3 separate regions of the Homo sapiens genome follow, and regions 1 and 3 are each linked to region 2. The links are contacts of gene promoters, found by promoter capture Hi-C in blood cells and fetal thymus (Javierre and others, 2016). All regions are on one chromosome and are shown on one strand. Each heading gives the region's core, a stretch centred on a gene start or on the middle of the fragment in contact. The rest is flanking DNA. Distances are from core to core; before and after follow the strand shown.

The links. The method cuts DNA at HindIII sites, captures the fragments that hold promoters and counts their contacts. A CHiCAGO score of 5 or more calls a contact.
Region 1: a contact is called between the fragment with the promoter of EEIG2 here and the fragment with the promoter of CFAP276 in region 2, in 7 of 17 cell types (naive CD8 T cells, naive CD4 T cells, activated CD4 T cells and 4 more). The highest score is 9.4, in naive CD8 T cells.
Region 3: a contact is called between the fragment with the promoter of GSTM4 here and the fragment with the promoter of CFAP276 in region 2, in 3 of 17 cell types (monocytes, M2 macrophages and neutrophils). The highest score is 6.3, in monocytes.

What each region holds. Positions count from the first base shown.
Region 1 is chr1:108,558,715-108,561,414 of GRCh38, reverse strand. EEIG2 (EEIG family member 2) reads right to left here and starts at 1,315. Exons shown (of 11, transcript NM_001010883.3): 1 at 850-1,315. The coding sequence starts at 986. RefSeq lists enhancers at 112-161, 625-724 and a silencer at 1,115-1,654. The HindIII fragment of the contact is 6,399 bases long and covers 1-1,540 here.
Region 2 is chr1:109,111,436-109,114,135 of GRCh38, reverse strand. It overlaps CFAP276 (cilia and flagella associated protein 276), which reads left to right and starts at 1,389. Exons shown (of 5, transcript NM_001245025.3): 1 at 1,389-1,537. The coding sequence starts at 1,457. ELAPOR1 (endosome-lysosome associated apoptosis and autophagy regulator 1) reads right to left here and starts at 21. Exons shown (of 22, transcript NM_020775.5): 1 at 1-21. RefSeq lists a silencer at 200-269. The HindIII fragment of the contact is 3,574 bases long and covers 1-2,326 here.
Region 3 is chr1:109,654,849-109,657,348 of GRCh38, reverse strand. It overlaps GSTM4 (glutathione S-transferase mu 4), which reads right to left and starts at 1,250. Exons shown (of 8, transcript NM_000850.5): 1 at 924-1,250; 2 at 562-637; 3 at 70-134. The coding sequence starts at 959. RefSeq lists enhancers at 24-609, 1,483-1,532. The HindIII fragment of the contact is 5,301 bases long and covers 1-2,500 here.

The DNA.
Region 1 (2,700 bases), core at 66-2,565, 550 kb after region 2:
TCAAAAGTTCATTTAAAAAATTGTTTTCTCTCTCTATGTATATATTTTAAAGAAAGCACCTTAGGGTACATCTGTCAACCTGTGAGTAGCTCTGAAATTACTCAAGAAACACTGCCACACCTATTATTAATGCCACACCTATTATTTAATAGCTTCATTCTGTAACCTGCTAATGCCTCTCTCTGGGAGTGCCCAGGGGCTCATTTTAAAATGAGGGCAGGGCCTGGGCTCCCCATCTGGCTCTAAGCCCTCCCACAAGGAGACCTACTAGTGGCCACTTCAAGACTAATTCATCCAGCATTAGCGCCTAACTGGAGACGCCGCTCTCTGATGAGGCACAGACCGTTGTCTCGTCTGCCAGGAGCACTTGACTCAAGTCAAGCCTGGCCAGGCCTACCCCAGCCTCAGAGTGGGTGGCCAAGTCCCCTTGTAATCTACAAGGGAGAAGGAATTGTGCTAAGCACAGGTTTCTGTTCAGAGCTGGGCTCTTGGAACTCCTGCAGTTTGGGTTATTTTAGTTTTTAACAGCTCAAGTTCTACTTTGCATTTCACAAATATGGAAATGTCTTAAGAGAAAACAGAAGCATCCTCCCTCTCTGGCCATTGCTCCCATTCCTAGAGGATTTGGGAGGGAAGAGCAGATACCAGGCACCATCTGGAGTCAGGAGCGCAGGAACCAAGGCCAGCTGAGAAGAACCCATTTGCAAAGCACTTTGCAGATCAATAAATTCGACTGATTTTAGAGCGGTCCCTAGGGAAAGGCGAGCAAATGGGCCAAGGAGAGATGCTGCCCATCCAACAAGCCCTGGCCAAGCAGAAAGGGGCGAGGCGGCGCGGGAGGCGAGTTACCTGGAGGACTCGGCGGTGAAGCTGCCGCCGTCCAGCAGCCGCATCTTGCAGAAGAGGACCCCATTGACGAAGGGCACTGAGGAGAGCTCCTCGAGCTCGAAGTCCACCTTAAACTTAAACTTCTTCTTCTTCATCATCGTGAGAGCCAGGCGCCTGCAAGCTGGGCGCACGGCCGGGCGCCGCCGCCTCAGCTTGGCCGAGCCCCGGATCAGCCCAGCCCCATGGCCGGGGCCGCGAGCTGTGCGCGGGGGCGCGGCCGGGGGGCGCCGCAGGCCGGCCGCGGCCGGGGCCGCTGCCGCCGCCTCTCGCGGCAGCCTGGGCCGGAACGCGGCGGCAGCTGCGGCGCGGACCCCGACCGCCCGCGGGGAGCGGTCGTGCTGCAGCTCGCCCGGGGAGGTGAGCGCCCTTTTGGTGCTCAGCTCGCCGCCGCCGCCGCCGCCGCCTCCGCCGCCGCTGCCGCCCGTCTGGGAGTCGGGAGAGGCGAGGCTCGAGGAACCGCCGCCTCAGCGCCTCGGGGGTCGGGGGCGCCCCCAGCGGCCGCGGCCTGCAGCGCACGGCGGGGCGGAAGCCGGAGGGAGGGCGGGGACTTTGTGGGCGGGCGCGGGCTTGGCCGCGGACTCTAACCCGCGACGGCAGTTAGCACGTCACGCCTTTCTGGGGTTAAAAAAAGACAAACCCGACAGAGAAAGCTTCCTTCTACCGCTTCCTCTCCGCCTTTCTTTTCAGTTTTTGCACCGCCTCCTTTCTCCCCCACCCCCTCCAGTGGTTTCTTTCCTTTGGGTTTGAGAGCCATGGGTTAATAGAGGCAATTAAAATCTCAGCGTTGTTTTGGTCAAATTGAAATCCTAAAACTAAAATTTCCGTTAGGTACTCTAAATTCACGAGCCTTCAAATATAAAAGGAAGATAAGGTAGGAAAAAGGAAAATGATGTGCTGAGGGACTATCAAGGGCCCAGGCACCGTACTGCTGCAGGCGCTTTCTCTGGGGTATAGCTTATCTAGTTCCTGTCACCCAGGACAAAAGATAAAAGAGCAAAGAAGCAGTTAAAATAATACCCTCCCTTTAAAAATTTGTCTGTCTATACTGAGAACTGAAATGCTTAAAATCAAATTCTGCAGGCAGTCTGGCATGGCTACGCTGTAATCCCAGCTACTCGGGAGGCTGAGGAGGGAGGTTAGCCTGAGCCGGGGAAGCGGAGCTTGCAATGATCGGAGATCGCGCCACTGCACTCTAGCCTGGGCAACAGAACAAGCCCCTGTCTTAAAAACAAAACAAAATCTTCAGAGCAGGCTTAAAAAAAAATCTCCCTAGGGGAATAACAATTACCTGCCTTCTGTAATCATGCATGTATTGTTACAATGAATGTTACAAAGTTGGTTACGTGATGTTCATGTTTTTAAACTGAGTTATTGTCATTTTCACTCAGATTCTGCCACAGTAATTCTGAAAGGGTTTAATTGAAAATATTTTCTTTCTCAGTTTACTCGTTTACTCATTCATTCATATAAAAAAATTGCTTAAAATGTCAATCATCGGCTAGACCCCATAACCAAAAGCCAATAACTGCCCTCAAGAATTTTACAATCTAGTGAGGAAGACATGTTTAGACAGGTCATTAAAAAAACACAACCTAGCACCAAGCTATGTAGAACTCAGAGAAGCAATTAATTGAAGTTAATCAGTTTTCTGAATTTCAAAGGATGAAAATGATTTGGGACAAAGTGGGGTAAGTTGTTCTAGGAGAAATAAATTAAAAAAAAAAAAAGATTCAGAGGCAGGTTCGGGGGTGGGGATTTGGTAATGGATAAAGCTTCTTACCCTGCAGGACAGGGGGCAAAGACAGTGAGATG
Region 2 (2,700 bases), core at 140-2,639:
TGCTTCTGCTGGCAGAAGGCGGAAAAAAAGGGGAGGGAGGTACACAGGCGGAGGATGCAAGAGGCCAGGCTCGCTTCAGTCACCTCCCTGCGGCTACGCCAACACCGCCCATCCTTCCTCCTCCCTCTGTCCTCTCCTCCTACCCACGTCGCCTTGACAACCGCCTCCTCTCTGGCTCCGCGCGGGTGGGGCAGGGACCACGCGCGCCTCTGCAGCTCACCTGCGGGTCGCCATGGCAGCCGCCGCCGCTGGTGCGCGCGGCGTGGGCGCGGGAGAGCGCGCGCCCGGGGTGCGCAACCGGCCCAACAGGCAGGCCCGGGGCTCGTGTGAAGAACACAGTGGAAGCATCCTCCAAGCCAGCCAACAAATTTCCGTTTTCTACTGCCCTTTCGGGCCAGGGGTTATTTTATGAGCATCTCCGATGTTGCACACGTGGCGTGTGAACCGAGAGAAAGAAGATGGAGAGATCACCCTCCAGACGTCGTCGCCTGGAAGAGGCCCCAGTACGTGTTCCCTCCTACGAAGGCCACTCCTGGAGATCTTACATCCCGCCAAATCCATCCGTGCTTTTACAACCGGCTAGAAGAGAAGCCCTGACACTGTAGTTGATCCGAGTTTAAGCGAGGAGTTTGCCTTAGCCGCAATTTCCCAAGCGCCGCACGTGGGCCTCTCTCTCTCTCTCTCTCTCTCTCTCTCTCTCTCTCTCTCTCTCTCTCTCTTTCTCTCTCTCTCTCTCTCTCTCTGAGACAGGGTCTCACTCTCTCGCCCACACTGGAGTGCAGTGGCGCGATCTCGGCTAACTGCAACCTCCGCCTTCCGGGTTCAAGAGATTCTCCTGGATTAGCCTCCCGAGTAGCTGGGACTACGGGCGCGTGCCACCAAGCCCAGCTAATTTTTTTCCTACTTTTTGTAGAGACGGGGTTTCGCCATGTTGCCCAGACTGGTCTCGAACTCTTGGGCTTAAGCGATCCGCCCGCCTCCGCTTCCCAAAGTGCTGAGATTACAGGCGTGAACCACCGCGCCCGGCCCTCTTTGGTCTCTTGACATCCTCATTCTCTCATGGCTTTGAAAGCCTTTTGTTAGGTGCGAGGGAGAAGGAAATTTCTGGGTCATCTTTCAGGACTTCTTTCCTCAACTGAAGTCTTTTGCAGAAGTCCTGATGGTGAGCAGCCAGCACTTTTCCGCCGAGGCTCAGGAGTGCAATTCCAAGTCTCGGGCCCGCTCAGCGGAACGTTCCCTCTGCAGTCCCCGGAGCTTCCTCCCCAGGGGCCTCCCGTGGTCAGCCGCCAGGTGGCGCCCTCCTCTGAGGGAATTCCTCTGTCATAGATGGCTGGGCAGTTGCCTGGCAACCGAAACCAGCGCTCCAAACAATTGGGACCCGGGATCTTATGCCAGTGAGGCTGTGCTGCGGCTGAGCGGGCCTCCCATCCCTCTTAAAAGAGTTAGGCATTTAGCCATGCCTCCCACCCGGGACCCTTTCCAGCAGCCTACATTAGATAACGATGATTCCTACTTAGGAGAACTGCGGGCTTCCAAGGTACTGTGGTTTCTTGCGCAGATTCCCAGTAGGGTCGCCGGTAGTCTTCTTTCTGTCTGTGTGATGAGCAGAGATGGTAACATAAAGGACTCTGGTGAAGACACTCAGTCGGGTACCAGGGAAGTCTGTTTTCTGCCTGCCTCCCTATCTCCATATTCAAGTCGGCTAACGTTTCAGAGGCGTTTTTGAGCAGAGGAAAGTAGAGTTCTAGTCTAGAGGAACAAGGGGCTCTGGCAGCTCAAATCAATTGTGAGTATAAGTTATGGCAGTGCCCAGGTTCCTTCAAGCTACCCATTTCCCTATTTGGAAGACTGTTCTCTGAAGAGAAATGAGATATGGAGTGGGAGAGAATCCTCTGAAAGCCACCAGAGGTCATGCTTTACACATCTGTGTTCACACTGTCTCTGTCTTCTGGTTAACACCACAATATGTTTGTTATGTGTGTGTTTAGCATGATGGTGGACACTGATTTCGGAACTTAGATGATCTTTTTTCTGGTAGAAGTGATTGGGATATATGAAGTGGTGCACAATAAGATGAATTAAGTGGTGATTGTGGTCTAATAACAATATTGAGAGCCCCTTTTTATTTATTCAATACTTATTTACTATAAGCCAGACACTCTGCTAAACGCCAAGGATATATAAATAAATTAGATGTAGCTTCTGCTGTCAAGGAACTCTAGTAGTAAAGAGAGACCGACAATAGCAAAAATGCTTGCACAATAGCACATGTTGTGACAGAGTTGTGTGCAGGGTGCCGTGAGAACCAGGAACTTAAAGGAAAGCTTCACAGAGCAGATGCATTTTGATGTCCAAATATGAGTTAGGTAGGCCAGGTGAGGGAGTGGATAGAATGTGAGTTAGGAAGAAGGAAACAGGAACCAGATATGCAAGGCAAAGGAAGCAGCAGGTGCAAATACATGGAAAGGAGAGAGAGAATGGCTTATTTGGGGAACTGCAAATAGTCTAGAAGGGCTGGAGTGTAGGCGTGCAATGGAAGCACTCAGAAATCAGAGCTGGAGAGATGCCCTTGGTTGGCTGGGTGTGCTGTGTACACCATGCTAGCTAGCTATGGTTTCATCCTAGGGATGTGAGGAATCATTGTGGGATATTTTTTTTTTTTTGAGACAGGGTCTCCTTGCTCTGTCACCCCAGCTGGAG
Region 3 (2,500 bases), core at 1-2,500, 540 kb before region 2:
TGGGGAGAGGAGATGCAGTCAGAGACACGTCGCACTTTCCCCCAAAACCGCCCCTTCCCCTGCACCTACATTGGGAAAGTCCAGGCCCAGCTTGAATTTTTCATTCAGCCACTGGCTTCTGTCATAGTCAGGAGCTGCCGTGGGGAAGAAGAAGTGAAAACAAACCTCCCCAGAGCCCAGCCCTCCTTCCCGGGGACCCTCCCAAGGAACCAGTGGCAAGATCCCTGAGACAGGTGGATCTAGAATCTGACCACTCAGTCCCACATCCCAGGGTTCAGGGACAAAGAATCCCGCTGAGGGCTCTGGACCCCACACGGCTAAGGCTTCCAGGGTTTAGGGAAGCTCTGAGGGACACCCAACCCAATTAAACAGGGGGCCCAGCATCCCGCCCCAGCATTCTGCCTTGCAAGGCCACAGGACTCCCTCACCGGGGCTCAGGGAAGGGACAGCCTGCAGCTCCAGCAGGGGAGGCCTGCAGAGGTAGCCACAGGTGGCCACCATGGGTTGCTTGGTGCCAACTCAGCGTGAGTGGGCAGAGCCCGGACACAAGGGTGTCATTACCGTCCCCCATCGTATACTTCTTTTCCTCGTAGCTTGAGTCTGTGTATTCCAGGAGCAGGCGGATGGCGTGGGCCAGCTGGAAGAGATGGCCCGCAGGTCGTGTCAGAGATGGAGGGTCCCTGACTTGGTGACTTTCTCTGCACCAGGTGAGCCCCTAGTCTACACTGCACTGCACCCCCCCCCCACCCCGGCGCACGCACACACACACACACACACACACACACACACACACACACAGGCATGCACAGGCCCTCCTGTGAGAGATAGCCCTAAGGAGGGAACCGTCCCTAGAGCCGGTCCCCAGCCGCTCGGCACTTCCCGCCCACGCGCCCGGTCCCACAGTGCAGCGGACCCTCACTCACCCCGCGGATGTCCCAGTACCCCAGTGTCATGGACATGATGCTGGTTGGTGTCGATTCTGCAGACAGGCCTCAGCTGGGCTGAACTGCGACCTCCTCTGGGGTTCCCGGCACGCAGGGGCTGGACCTAGCGCCAGACCCGCCCCCTCGGCCCCGCTGCGCCCGCCGATCTTCAAGGTCGTCACTTCCAACCGGCCGATCTTCAAGGTCGTCACTTCCAACCAACAGGCGCGGGAGGCACGGAGCAGGTTGCTGGATCCTCACTGGCTGGAAGGAGTAAGATCCACCGCCACCTCCGAGTGTTCAGGGAGCAAGGTCCGGAAGCACTAGGAGGGGCTCGGCCTCGCCAGCTTCCGTAGCCCCGCCCCGCCCCGCTCCGCTTCGGACCTCTGCTGGGTCCCCAGGGACTCGGCTGTGCGCGTGAGAGTAAAGCCAGATCGTAAGAGAAAAGTTCTTCCCCCGTTTCTTCTTCTCCGGACGTCGCCCAGCCTTCTGCCTCTCGGCTGCCGAGTTCCCACAGGCTCTGGGAGACTGAGGCTGCCAGGGTCAGACTAAAGAGAGGTCTCAGAGAGTTTAATTCAACACTTCTTGGCTACTAAGTCTTAGAAGTCTGATGGTGTGCTCTCTCTGCTGAGTTGGGGAGCGTGAATGGAGGCTATGTCACCGAAGCTGATAGAGCTCAGTCTCTGTTGCAGATGCTCCCGACCCTTTTGCATTGGGCCAGTTCCCCAGCTCTGAGACTGGGTCCAGGCTCAGGAAGTGGCCTATGTGTCAAGGTGGATTCCCATGTAGGTTTGCCTACAGCAAGACGATAGCACCATGCACACACAAGTGCTTGGACTTCTGAATAGTTATACTTCTCATTATACATTAAGACATTAAGAATGTGTCATTCTGAGTCTTTTTTTTTTTTTTTTTTTTGGAACGGGGACTCGCTGTGTTGCCCAGGCTGGAGTGCAGTAGGGCGATCTCGGTTCATTGCAACCTCCGCCTCCCGGGCTCAAGCGATTCTCCTGCCTCAGCCTCCCGAGCAGCTGGGATTACAGACGAGCGCCACGACGCCCTGCTAACTTTTTTGTATTTTCTGTAGAGATGGGATTTCACCGTGTTGACCAGACTGGTCTTGAACTCCTGGTCTCAAGTGATCCACCCGCCTCCGCCTCCCAAAGTGCTGGGATTACAGGCATGAGCCACGGTGCCTGGCCTGTCATTCTGAGTTTATCCATCTTGAGCTGGGAAAGATAAAATGTCTAGGTCCAATTGTGAAGATGATTTTTTAAGAAAGCTAACACTTATGAGAATAATTATGAAAGAAACAGAATTGATATTGTTACATTAGTATTCACCCATTTGGTCATTCCTTTATTGAAACAACAGTTGTTGAGATCCTACCATATTCCAGGCACTGGGAATAAAACAATCCTTCAAAAACACTGTACTTTGGCCACCTACGACTAGAAGTCAGGTGGGAACTACAGGGGAGAGATTTTGAAAATACGGGACACTTCTTACTGTTTTTGCACACTGAGAGGCAGTGGAGTGGGAGAGGGGTTGAGTGTAGGAGAGAGAAGCGGTGCCTG